5 separate regions of the Homo sapiens genome follow, and regions 2, 3, 4 and 5 are each linked to region 1. Evidence: promoter capture Hi-C in human tissues and cell types (Jung and others, 2019). All regions are on one chromosome and are shown on one strand. The core of a region is centred on a gene start or on the middle of the fragment in contact, and the rest is flanking DNA. Distances in the headings are between cores, read along the strand shown.

The links. Contacts are between HindIII fragments. The study calls those that stand out against the background at their distance.
Region 2: a contact is called between a fragment that was not itself captured here and the fragment with the promoter of CDH6 in region 1, in 1 of the 25 tissues and cell types used here (H1 embryonic stem cells).
Region 3: a fragment that was not itself captured here is called in contact with the fragment with the promoter of CDH6 in region 1 in 1 of the 25 tissues and cell types used here (aorta).
Region 4: a contact is called between a fragment that was not itself captured here and the fragment with the promoter of CDH6 in region 1, in 2 of the 25 tissues and cell types used here (hippocampus and pancreas).
Region 5: a contact is called between a fragment that was not itself captured here and the fragment with the promoter of CDH6 in region 1, in 1 of the 25 tissues and cell types used here (dorsolateral prefrontal cortex).

The regions. Positions count from the first base shown.
Region 1 is chr5:31,192,421-31,195,120 of GRCh38, forward strand. It overlaps CDH6 (cadherin 6), which reads left to right and starts at 1,266. Exons shown (of 12, transcript NM_004932.4): 1 at 1,266-1,466. The HindIII fragment of the contact is 7,217 bases long and covers 1-2,700 here.
Region 2 is chr5:30,868,964-30,871,663 of GRCh38, forward strand. No RefSeq gene overlaps it. Among named protein-coding and RNA genes, the nearest start is that of CDH6, 320 kb to the right of the region's middle. The HindIII fragment of the contact is 3,693 bases long and covers 1-2,700 here.
Region 3 is chr5:30,916,843-30,919,629 of GRCh38, forward strand. No RefSeq gene overlaps it. Among named protein-coding and RNA genes, the nearest start is that of CDH6, 280 kb to the right of the region's middle. The HindIII fragment of the contact is 3,846 bases long and covers 1-2,787 here.
Region 4 is chr5:30,791,391-30,794,144 of GRCh38, forward strand. No RefSeq gene overlaps it. Among named protein-coding and RNA genes, the nearest start is that of CDH6, 400 kb to the right of the region's middle. The HindIII fragment of the contact is 8,207 bases long and covers 1-2,754 here.
Region 5 is chr5:30,709,511-30,712,365 of GRCh38, forward strand. No RefSeq gene overlaps it. Among named protein-coding and RNA genes, the nearest start is that of CDH6, 480 kb to the right of the region's middle. The HindIII fragment of the contact is 6,839 bases long and covers 1-2,855 here.

The DNA of each region.
Region 1 (2,700 bases), core at 16-2,515:
ACCATTCCATGCACACTTCTTTGAAGCACTGGCTGCCTAAAGGAATACTTTTGATTTGGGCTTTATTTAAATGCCTGAACTTCTATTGGAGAAACAAAAGGTTTTCTAGTAAGAGCTCAGTTGGGAACAGGACCAACCTCCAGCCAGTTTAACTACTCAGAGGCCAAGCAGCCTGGCATTTCTTAGAGCTCTGTGCAATGGAAATCTCCCTGAGAACTTGCAGCACAGGCGAACAGCTGGTTTGGGAGGCTAGTGACCCTGGGTGCAATCACTGTGGTAATTAGATTTAATTTTCCTAATCCAACAGTGGCTGACTCCATCATGCCTATGTCTCCTATGTAGAAAATCATTACTCTCATTTAATGGTACTTTGACATGTTTCACATTTTTGTGGCTTAGTACCTTAACATTAGATATTACCTCTTTGTAACTATCAATCTAGCCATTCAAACAGCTATGTGTACTAAAGAGTTTAATTTGAAGGTTATCCAACTTCGGCAACTTTCCAGAAGGATCTTCGAACGTTAAGCAGACCTTGAATATCATTGTACACCCCTCTTCTGCAAGTCTTTTGTATGCTTGTATCAATTCATTTAGAACGATGGCATCAGTCATAAGTCATTGGCAAGCCTGAAGGGTTTGGGTTTTCAGTGTTTCTGCAAGCCCAGGGAAGCATGGCTTCATGCTACGACATCCTGGGGTCACTCCAAAAGAGTAACAGAGATCATGGGGCTACGTGAAAGCGTGTCTTCCTGGGAGGAGAGAAGGAAAGACATGTATGAATCTATCCATGTCTGCTTGCATCTGGAGAACGCCTGTTTATGTTGTAAAGAAAAGCCATCGGTATTGTCATCTCAGGAGACCGGCTTGTTTTATGTGTGTGCATGTTATACGTGCTATCACACGAAGCTGGCCAACTGATAGAGTGACGAGGTACTGTGTCCCTGGGAATTGTAATTGCTTGGTCGGTGAAAAAAAAAGAACATCAGACCATTGCTGATAATAGCACAAGGTGCATTTTGATAGTACAAAAGAGGAAACAGACGGAGTCATACAAGTTCTGAGTATATCTTAAACCCCCTCCAACAAAAAAAAGAAAGAAAGAAAGAAAGAAAGAAAGCAAGGGAAAGCCTGGGGCTGAAGGAGTGTTCCAGGGAGCGAATTGCTCAGGACTTCAAACACTGGGAGTCATTCTGTCAAGGGGAGGGGGCGGGCGGGGGCAGGCACTGGGCCTCTTTAACAAAGTCCTCCTCTCTTTGCTCCCTCCCACTTCATTCACTTGCAAATCAGTGTGTGCCCACAAGAGCCAGCTCTCCCGAGCCCGTAACCTTCGCATCCCAAGAGCTGCAGTTTCAGCCGCGACAGCAAGAACGGCAGAGCCGGCGACCGCGGCGGCGGCGGCGGCGGAGGCAGGAGCAGCCTGGGCGGGTCGCAGGGTCTCCGCGGGCGCAGGAAGGCGAGCAGAGGTGGGTTCGGGCTCCGTTGGCTATGCATACATCTCCCTTTTTTTTTTTTTAATTCTGTAGCGTTGATAGAAGCCAATCAGAGAGAGAGCCCTCTCCGCCCGGTGGGTGCCGCGCCGGAGTTGGGAGGGATGCTCTCAGCCTGCGAGCCCGGGTCGGGGCGGGCGCGCGGGTCCGGCTGCGCGGGCGGCGCTGCTGCCGCTGCTCAGGACCGACGCCGCTTCCCGGGGAGCCTGGGCACCGCTCCTCCGCCTCCTGGTAAGACCGATCCGCCGTGGGGCTGGGTGGGGGCACCGGGAAGCGGGCCGCCGCAGAAGAACCCGCTGCCTTTCTCTACGCCGGCAGAGGCTGCCAGGGGAGCTCTGGCATTTGCAAAGTTGGCTGGTCAATTACCAAAGGGCGCTGGTGCGTGCAGGTCCCGCCGAGCCGTTTGGGGCTTGATTTATCTCCACCTGCCCGCATCATAAGGGTCTGCGTGGTGACTGCTTGGGCTGAGTTACATTTCTTAGCTTTTGGGGTAAAGCAGAAAATCAGGTAGTCTGAAAACTCTGGAATGCTCCCAGTAAGGAAAACTTAAACTAAAGAGACGATTTGGCTGGTAGAAGGAGCTAAAGAAAACTGTTAGCTTGCACGTTCCGGGCAACGCCTGCCGGCTCATCTAGGACAGAAATGCTTAGGTTGCAAGGAAAGTCCAACACTGGACTCCGAAAATGGAGCACACTGTCCAGGGAAAAGTCATATGGAAGGCGCAGTTCGCTCGTGCTCCTCCACGGCTGGCCAGGCTCAAATCTGGGGGATAAAGCCTTCCCCGGACTGATTGGAGAGTGGTTGGAGTGCGCTTGGTTTTCGGTGCCAGATGCTGGAAAATTGGAGCCCCCAATGCGTTAATCCCAGAATTTAATAAAAAGGGACGCTGCAATGTTGTGGACTGCAGCAGTTGCAGAGCTGAGATTACTTCTTCCGTAGTTAGATATTCTGTCATGAGTTACCGTAGATCTCGAGATGGGAGATGCTGGAGAGGTCAGCGTGGTGCTAAGAAGTGTCACTGCTGCAATAAAATCCATATTTTATGGGGAGTTAAATGCAGGTCTCTGTCAGTGCAAAGGGCTGGCCACCTGAGTTAACTATGACTCAGAACATTCAAGAACCAAGAAGTTTAATCATCTGGAATAGCCACACATTTCTGTCTCCTACTCCCATTAAAAAAAAAAAAAATTTAAATGATGATAGTCATACT
Region 2 (2,700 bases), core at 83-2,582, 320 kb before region 1:
AGCTTGGAAGGGGGAAGATATCTAGAGTAAGAGAAATAGTATGGTTAAAAAACAAAACATTATCTTTTTATTAGAAACATATAAATTATGGAAAAGACTGCTATGAACTTATTTTCTTGTTGAAGTTTTCACAGAAGTCATCATTATGATTTGGACCTTCAAGAAAATAGAATTTCAATTAGGACACCCAAAAGAAATACTCCCACAGGAAGAAGAGCAAAAATTACTGGAGGAAGGAATGAGCATGGATTGTGAAAGTCCTTTGTAAATCCTAAAAACGTATGTAAAGGTGAAGGTTGATAATTACTGAACTATGCTGGATGGTGACAAAGGAGAAGAACTGAGATGCTGAGAAGAGCATCTGAATTGAACAGCAGCAGATGGATTTGAATAGGTAAGGCAGAACCACTCACGTGAGGAAAGACAGATAAATTCAATCCGAAATCTTCATAAAGCATTGTGAAACTTTTGTAGATTTTTAACTAGGAAGGAAAACCGTAAGAGCAGTGCTTTATTCATCTATCAGCTGTGTGCAAGATGGCTTGCGGCAAGAATGCCTTGGAGACAAGGAAATGAATTATGAAGCTATTGAGGTAATCTTTGAAATCATAAGAATTTGGAATGTTCTAGGTCAGATTAACATTTATTGAGCACCAAGTGTGGTCTAGGCACTGCACGGGGCTTTAGGGGTAGAAGGATGCAAGGACTCTGCTGCTTAGGATCTTGCAGAATGTTGAACCTCATTCTTCTGCAAGCTGGCAGTGACAATGTTGTCTATAAGCAGCTTTGGAGGTAGGAGAAGAGACACTTAGCCAAGCTTAAGTGGGAAAAGGAAGGTCACTTGAGTCAGTTATGCTTTGAACTGAGTCTTGAAGGTTGAGTAAAAATTACTAATGTCAGGAAAGAGGGGTCAATCTGAAGCAGGAGGCCTTTGTGATACAAAACAGAGGACAAGGGCAGTCTCCTGGGTCATAAGACAGGGCTTGATATTGATTTTTCAGAAAAAGAATACCATTCTAATTATAAGAGCAGTATTGTCAGATTTGTGTTTTAGAAGTATCAGTCAGGCATAAATTAGGACAAGATTAAACTGGAAAAAAGGAACCTAGTTAGGATAGTGTTAGAAGAATTCCAATGAGAAAGGAGCATTAGAGCTGTGCAGCAGTGGAAGTGATGGAAAAATAAGAAGAGACTCTAGAAATATTTGAGAGTGAAAATAGAAGAGACTGATTGCGTTGTAGGGCTGATTGGATAGAAAAAGTAAGAAACAAAACATCTCAGATGATTGCTGACATTCTGTCTGTCACCCAGCTCAATGGGTGGTGTGTCAGTAATGGTCATTTGGAATTGGAGAGGATGATTCAAAGGAGGGCAGGACAATGGATTCAGTTATGAACATGGTTAATCTGAGGTGCCTGTGAAAATCAAATGGGTAGGTGGAGCAGATTGCATAAATCCAAACATCCTTGGGGCAGTCCAGGTAAAATGTATACATTTGGCAATCATTAGCATTTAGGTAATTATAAAATGAAGGTAAGATGAGATTTCTAAGGGAAAGAATGTAGCCTGAGGAGGGCAGTGGGCAGAAGGTAAATTTCTGGGAATAACAGCAGCTAAGGGATTAGAGGAAGAAAGGGAGGTGAGGAAGGAGGCTGAGAAAAAACTGGCAAAGTTGTAGGAAGAAAACTGGTAGCAATCGAAAAGATAAAAGCCGAAGAAGTAGGAGACTAGCAAAGAGAAGCCTGTGCTGCACATAATTGACAGAAAACAGAGACTGATGTGATTCAGAGATGGTACTAAAAAATTGAGTTATAATTCCTCACAAGGACTTACTCCAGGGAACTGGGACAAATGTTCTAACACTGACGAAAACACTTGAGGTAGATGAGCCTAAGAGATACCTTATGGATGTGAGATTTTTTTTTGCTTCTCCTCATTTGCTGGCCTGTCAATCGATGTGAGTCTACAAAATACTGAATAGTTTGTGACTCAATCGCATTGAAACTCAACTCCATCCCTGTGTTCAAGGACTATCAGGCTCAATCAAGGAACTCTTAACAGTTGGTAGACTTCACAAATCAGAAGGAACAAGACAATTTCCAGGAAGGACTGTGATTCTTATAGTTGTTTCCTTTCCTCACTTTATAATGGTATCATTAGTTAGACTTCCAGATACTACATAAAGTGAAACCATTCACTCAGGCTGACATTTATACAGGCTAATCAAATGCTTGTGAGGTAGAGCAAATAACTAACCATAGTACCTGAAAGAGGTTGAAAAAAAATCATAAAACACACTCACAGTGTATTCTGAAAAGCTGGCAAGTAAGGTTTCTCTCAGCAAATTTGAGACAAATTTGGAGAAAGGTAATTATGCAGGCAATTCAATACCCACTGAAGTGGGCGTGCTGAAAACCCTCCCCCGCTTCTCCAGCACTGTGTAAGACACCCTAAAGCAAAAGCAAGCTTAAATTGGTGACAGTTTCAACATTGTCTCCTCCTCTTCAGCTGCCATATGAAAGCCACTCAGCCACACTTCTCACAATTTGCAAAATTGTGCAGATGAGGACACCTTTGAAACCGTCATATTGAAGGGAGATTGGGATGCAGGAGCATGCAACACCCTTCCAGGGCTACTGCAGGGCAGCCCCACCTGTCATTTCAGCAGGTTTCCAGTGCAAGAGAAAGACACACTACCTG
Region 3 (2,787 bases), core at 168-2,667, 280 kb before region 1:
TCCCTAGAGGGTGGCAGGAAGGAAGAGGATAGGAAAAGACTGGCTTGAAGATAGATGAGTTCCTGCTCTTTCTGCGTTAGCCATTTACCCGGGTAAGCAACTTGTCACCATAAGAAACATTAAGGAAGTATAAGAGGAGATGAAGTCATTAAAAACTGCAATGAGGCAAACTATGGCAGTGATCATCTTTGGATGCCTCAGTGGAGTGAAAGGGGCAAAGAAAAAAAAATGAGATAAACTTGAAGTACTGACAAGAGTGGGTACTGCCAAAAAAAAAAAAATGCAGCTCTGTATAAACTAATAAGGTGTGGCTAGCCTCTTCTTTGCAATGCCCAGGACTTTTTCTCTTGCTTTCTCATGCTTTTTCTCACATATTCCTTGCCTTCTTGCAGGCTGATCTTTTCTTCCCTTGACTATTCTCTGTTGTACATTGTGCATAAAGAAAGGGAAATGATGCTTTGGGAGAATTTCTAGCAAAGTATCTTTACTTTTATCATATCAGCACACAGTACATCCAGTCTCTCTAGCTCTGAGATTGTTCATTTATGATACAACCTTTTGATCTCAGAGTGAGACACAGAAAGCCAATAGAAGGAGCACTCCTACATCTACAGAATAAAGATAAATCTGAATGACTCTGACCCACAGGCCTAGCCACCTGAAAGTGCCACATACAGACAGAAATAAATGTTCTCTAAAGACTTCTTGCTGGCCATTTAAATTTTAATTTTATCCAAAGTCATTCCATGTTCTACATTTTTGTCTGATCACACACAAACAAAATGGCAGTGTTAGGAATGGGGAAGAAATGGAACAAAAGCTTTTTCAAAGCAAAATCACAGCTAAAATTTTAAGGCAAAAGGCATAATTGTAGGTTCAACACTTTTCACTACTTCCATAACTTTTGCATTTACATGAAGTGCTGGAAAAGCAAGGTGTCTTATTTTGGGAAAATCAATTTCAACTTTAGCCTGGCCTCGCTTATTATTTTGCATCTGATTTTTTAAAGAATAATTTAAAAACCTGAAAGCAGACAACATTATTATCATCATTAGAGCCACTGCTTTTTAAAAATAACTTCAGGTTGTGAGATTATGTCCAAGCCTGTCTCCTTTCTGTTCTTCTTTCTTTAGAATGAATTTTCTTGTCTGCATATTTTGTGGTCCAGAATGACTGTGAACAACAGATAATCACTGGAATATACCAAAATTCCCTTTTTGAGTCATTTGTCCTCGTCCTCATCTTGACTTATCCTTCTTGTCTCTAAAGCCCTGATCTTAGAAACAAATACTTCTCTTTGGTTGATATCCTGTTGAGTGCTGTAGTCTTTGTAATACTGAGATAGAGAAAACTGTGTACCCTAGGCTTCCAGAGTTTGGAGCGTGTACTTAGTAAACATGCAGGCCGAGATGCAAAAACAGGTATAGTTTCAATTTCCATACAAATCTTTGACTAGTAAGGGGTTTCTCACATCTCCAGGTTGCATCAAGCTGACTCATGACAGTGGCATTAGAAGCACCCTGAAGAGTCTCCATGAGGCTTTGCTTACTGTATTAGCCAGGGTTCACTAGAGGGACAGAGCTAACAGGATAGATGTGTATATGAAAGCGAGTTTATTAAAGGAGAATTGACTCACATGTTCACAAGTTTAAGTCCCATGATAGGCCGTCTGCAAGTTGAGGAGCAAGGAAGCCGGTGGTGGATCAGTCAGAGTCCCAAAACCTCAAAAGTCGGGAAGCCAACTGTGCACTTACAGTCTGTTTCCAAGGGCCCGAGAGCCCCTGTCAAACCGCTGGTGTCAATCCAAGAGTCCAAAAGCTGAAGAACTTGGAGTCTGATGTTTGAGGGCAGGAGGCATCCAGCATGAGACAAAGATGAAGGCTGGAAGACTCGGCAAATCTGCTCTTCCATCTTCTCTTGCTGCTTTATTCTAGCCACTTTGGCAGCTGACTAGATGGTGCCTACCGAGATTAAGGGTGAGTCTGCCTCTCCCAGTCCACTGACTCAAATGTTAATCTCCTTTGGCAACACCTTCACAGACACACCCAGGAACAATACTTTGCATCTTTCAATCCAATCAAGTTGACACTCAATATTAACCATCACATTTACCAACTGCCATTTACCTGTGTGATGTATTAGACTTCTGTAAGCTGGTAATGTCCTGACCACCACCTGCACTGTCAATTAAAATAAGAAGACTCATGTTTTTACTATACTATTTATTTTCCATTCTTTTCTTCTCTGAATCACACATTGAGCAAAACTATATAAAGCACCAATGATGTGTCACATATATGCTTATATTCTTGAAAAATAAATATTAATGTTCTACACTTTCAAGAAGCTCATAGTCTAGTGGGGAAAAAAATGCATAACCTTATCTATCCAGTTCAGAGAAAAATGTCATGCAAGCACCTTTAGAAACTTAGCACAGTATCTTCTGATAAATATGGATAGAGATTATTTTTAATTGGGAAAAATAAAAATGAAATCAATAGTCATTACCCAGTACTTATACATAAACAAGTTCATGTGAGTGGTAATTGCATGACAAGTAAATGCTTTCATTTATTGAAACTCTACTCTTGAACCTGGCATTAAGTTTCTTTAAAATCTAGCTTTAGTCATCACAGAGGAAGAAGGAAACATAAATAAGTAAATATTTAATTTTTAAAAAATCTAGCTTTAGACTATTCGGGAACATCACCTATTTTCCCTAACACAGATGCACCTGCAGCTTTAAACTCCTTTCCTGGAACTTCTCTAAGTAAACCAGGTACATTC
Region 4 (2,754 bases), core at 250-2,749, 400 kb before region 1:
AACATTGGAATTAGAATTCTAGGGTATATGGGATCCAGACCTTAAAGCTTCTCTACATTAAATGATAATTACCAACCCTGGAATAAGACCTTCTGCAAAACAGAAATTTGGCAAATCTTGAGTTTCTTATCTACACATCTTAAAAACACCCCTTAATTTCAGGAAAATGTATCAATTATAATTCAGAGTTACATATTTATAATTATTTAGAAATGTTTTAAGATGTTTCCATTTTAGAAGAACAGATTTACAGTAATCTATCATCTATTCATCATTCCCAATATATAAAAATTAAACAGAAATTAATAAAAATTAAACAGAAATTAGAGATCTAATAATCAGCAAACTGGGAATATTCTGTTCTTAAAAGGTTCTATAATATTTTTAAAAGATTAATCAAAATGGCATTAGTCAAAGTAACTACAATGTTTTCATATAAAAGAATATAATAGAAAGGAAATGAAAACATCCAAATTAGAGATTAATATTTCTTTCTTTTAAGTGGAAGAAATTGTAAATGGAAAGATGTTGCACATAAGATGCTTAGTTTAATGAATCAGAACAGATGAGGCTAATGGAGGAGGAGAAAGAGGAAGAAGTAACGAATAAACAAGTGATAAATACCTTGGTTTTTTCATGTTATTTTTGTTGTTCTTTACTCAGAATGATTTTTAAATTAACAAATACAACACACATATTCACATAAACAGAAAACTAAGCTTCCTCTATAATACTGACATGATGAAAGGGGGCACAATAGCCTTCAATCCATAATGAGAACCCATAATAAATGAGAACATACATTATAATCATACATTTTCTTAAATACATCTATGTGCATACACATAGCCCATGCTAATTTTTAAAACATGCCCTCCCAAATTTTTATATCCAGATACATATATATTCTATGCTGAGACACACATACAAAAAGTGACAAATATATGTGTAATTCTAGGTTAATCAATAACACCCATTCACACATACATATTACAGTTAGTTTGTCATTTGTGTCAGTTATAATTAGAGAAACACAATACGTGCTCATATTTATGTGCATATGTGCCATCTATTTCTACCCCCACATGCATAAACACTTGCAGAAGATCAAAGTGATGGTTTAGTTGCACAGTGCATGAGTTCGCGGCTGTAAGAAAGAGTAACTTGTTTAATACATACACTGGAGTATCTCTTATAATTAAAGTAAGGCTAGGCAACCACACTTCAGTGAAATACGAACCTGACCAGGCATGGGTAAGTTGGCATTGCAACTTGTAGATTTTTTCCTGTTGAACTCTACTATTGATGTGACGTAACCACCAAAACCATATTTCTCAGTTGCAATTTTCAAGTGACAAGATTTGAATAGCTCAGCTTAAGTCAGGTGCCTATTTTCATGTACACGTTCATTCAAAAGTTGTTGAGCCTCTACTATACACAATGTAGTGTGGACCAGGTTCTCCAATTACCAACCCCAAGAGAGAATTCCCACTGCATGGAGAATAGCAAAGATTATCACTATACCAACCACCAGAAATAGGACTCCAAACACTTTTGCCCACTGCACCTTGGGCTATAGTTTTATCAATTGCCTGAGTCCGATGAGACAGAACACTCACACACAACAAGTTACATAAAATAGATTTATTACTTACAGATAGGCAGCAAGCAGCAAAAGAAGTCTAGGATCCATTGTGATCCAGTCCCTCAAGGCTCAAGAAAGCTGCCTGGGGCAGATGGAGGAAGGCTGAACTTTGGGTGTTCCACTTGTATTGTGGCTGAGGGACCTCAAAAGTTGTTCCAACCCAAGTTATATACCTCAGGGCAATATGGCTCACTGGGCAAAGATTTGAAGGACATCCTGCTTCCAGGAGAAGGAGGAACAAAGCCCAATTTGTCTCAGACAGTTCCTCCCTAGCTCAAGATGTTACATTTTCTGGTTGGGACAAGAACAAGACCCAGACAGTTTCAGGCAGTTTTTGCCTAGATCTCAGGATGAATGTAGTCCCAGCACATTCTACAGTTTTTCCAAGAACTACATGCAGGAAAGTGGGAGCGAATTGGGTCAGTCCAAAGCCATCCAGAGATCTGTCCTGCAGATTAAGTTTTCGATATACTGAGGTTCAACACAGCAGACACGTCATGACTATGAACGTGGGTAAGCAGAACTGCACAGCAGAAACATGGTTGTCTAGAGCCTATACTTGGGGAGCAGAAAAGAGAGGATCTGCTGATTGGAGAGCAGAAATAAGAGGCACTGCTGATAACCAAATAGTCTTTACTAAAAGACTGTACCTGGTAGTTAGCTATGGTTAGTTCGCTGGACAAAGGAAAATAATTTGAAAAGACAAGTGAATGTATTGCCTGCATAACTATCCTAAGAAACCACTTCCTGGTTAGATATTTAAACTCAATGTCTTTATATTCTTTCATTCATCTGTTACTTGCTATTGGTAAGTAAATACAAGGTCAGTGAATTCAAATACATCTTCCTGAACAATTTAAAGTTGGAAAGAAAGATGTCTCTATAACAGAATTTCCTTTTTTAGCCTAGTACAATGAGTTTACAAAATGTCAGTATCCTATTTCATGTTCTTGTCTGTTGTGAAATTTCACTAATAAAATATACCTCTGAAAAAGTAACTATAAATTGTCTTTAATACTGTGTAATATAAACTTACTTCTCTGTTCACTCATATTGGTAGTTTCAAATCAAGGAAAACTTGAATTATTACATGTACTGATAAAACCCAA
Region 5 (2,855 bases), core at 350-2,849, 480 kb before region 1:
CATCAAGCTACCAATGACTTTCTTCAAAGAATTGGAAAAAAACTACTTTAAAGTTCCTATGGAACCAAAAAAGAGCCCGCATCGCCAAGTCAATCCTAAGCCAAAAGAACAAAGCTGGAGGCATCACACTACCTGACTTCAAGCTATACTTCAAGGCTACAGCAACCAAAACAGCATGATACTGGTACCAAAACGGAGATATAGACCAATGGAATGGAACAGAGCCCTCAGAAATAATGCCACATATGTACAACTATTTGATCTTTGACAAACCTGACAAAAACAAGAAATGGGGAAAGGATTCCCTATTTAATAAATGGTGCTGGGAAAACTGGCTAGCCATATGTAGAAAGCTGAAACTGGATCCCTTCCTTACACCTTATACAAAAATTAATTCGAGATGGATTAAAGACTTAAATGTTAGACCTAAAACCATAAAAACCCTAGAAGAAAACCTGGGCAATACCATTCAGGACACAGGCATGAGCAAGGACTTCATGTCTAAAACACCAAAAGCAATGGCAACAAAAGCCAAAATTGACAAATGAGATCTCATTAAACTAGAGAGCTTCTGCACAGCAAAAGAAACTACCATCAGAGTGAACAGGCAACCTACAGAATGGGAGAACATTTTTGCAATCTACCCATCTGACAAAGGGCTAATATCCAGAATCTACAATGAACTCAAACAAATTTACAAGAAAAAACAAACAACCCCATCAACAAGTGGGCAAAGGATATGAACAGACACTTCTCAAAAGAAGACATTTATGCAGCCAAAAGACACATGAAAAAATGCTCATCATCACTGGCTATCAGAGAAATGCAAATCAAAACCACAATGAGATACCATCTCACACCAGTTAGAATGGTGATCATTAAAAAGTCAGGAAACAACAGGTGCTGGAGAGGATGTGGAGAAATAGGAACACTTTTACACTGTTGGTGGGACTGTAAACTAGTTCAACCATTGTGGAAGTCAGTGTGGCAATTCCTCAGGGATCTAGAACTAGAAATACCATTTGACCCAGCCATCCCATTGCTGGGTATACACCCAAAGGTTTATAAATCATGCTGCTATAAAGACACATGCACACATATGTTTATTGCAGCACTGTTCACAATAGCAAAGATTTGGAACCAACCCAAATGCCCATCAATGATAGACTTGGTAAAGAAAATGTGGCACATATAAACCATGGAATACCATGCAGCCATAAAAAACGATGAGTTCATGTCCTTTGTAGGGACATGGATGAAGCTGGAAACCATCATTCTCAGCAAACTATCGCAAGGACAAAAAACCAAACACCGCATGTTCTCACTCATAGGTGGGAATTGAACAATGAGAACACATGGACACAGGAAGGGGAACATCACACACCGGGGCCTGTTGTGGGGTACGGGGAGGGGGGAGGGATAGCCTTAGAGATATACCTAATGTTAAATGATGAGTTAATGGGTGCAGCAAACCAACGTGGCACATGTATATATATGTAGCAAACCTGCACGTTGTGCACATGTACCCTAAAACTTAAAGTATAATAAAAATAAATAAATAAAAAATAAAAAAAGATTTAATAATTGTCCTGCTGTGTTTTGAACTTATGTGAGACCTGTAACCCCTTTCTTTTGGCTGATTTCTCCCTTTTGAAATGGCAAGGTTTACCCAATGCCTATACCCCCATTGTATCTTGGAAGTAAATAACTTATTTTTTATTTTACAGGCTAATAGATGGAAGAGACTTGCCTTCTCTCAGATGAGCCTTTGGGCGTTGGACTTCTGAGTTAATCCTGGAATGAGTTAAGACTTTGGGGGACTATTAGGAACGCATGATTATATTTTGCAATGTGAGAAGAACAGGAGATTCAGTGGGTGGGCAGAGGCAGAATGATATAGTTTGGATATTTCTCCCTGCCCAAATCTCATGTTGAAATGCCATCTCCAGTGTTGGAGGTGGGGCCTAGTGGGAGGTGTTTGAATCATGGGGGGAAGATCCCTCAAGAATGGCTTGGGCCATCCCCTTGGTGATAGGTAAGCTCTCCTTCTAAGCTCCTGGTTTTTTAAAAGTTTGTGGCACCTCCCCCCGACACACACACACTCTGTGTCTCTCTTGCTCCCGTTCTTGCTATGTGAAACACCTACTCTCCCACTTCACATTTTGCCATAAGTAAATCTCTCTGAAACCTCCCCTGAAGTAGATGCTGGCACTATGCTTCTGGTACAGCCTGCAGAACCATGAGCCAATTAAACATCTTTTCTTATAAATTACTCAGTCTCGTGTATTCCTTTATAGCAATGCAAGAACGGCCTAATACAGGGGGTGATAGATACATTCATTATCTTTATTACAATGATGATTTTATGGGTGTTTACACATGTCAAGACTACAAATTATACACTACAAGTATGTTTAGTTTTTATATGTCATTAATTATATCTATAAAACTGTTAAAAATGTTGCTAATTAGTCATGTATTACGGGAAACTTCAACTAGTTCTCACATCTGCCAAAGTATTTTTTTAACGAATGATTCTTTGTTTCTGTGCTCAAAGTTTATTTACAGTAATAATTTACTGATAATTTATTGATCACAACATAGTTAGCCTGTGTTTTTTTGAATTCATATCAAAACTACAATTTCTTATTATAATCCAAAAATCACAAAGAAAGAGATGATAAACTTTGAGTTTGAGCAAAGTAACTCATTACAGTGTGGTCAAAAGGATTTGATAATTTTTCACATTTGTTAATATCTGCTCCTTAATCTCAATGTCCATGGTCAATCTAGACTGTATAAACTGCTGAGTTTCAAAATGTCTTTAGATACATGTTTCTCCGTCAGTGTCACTA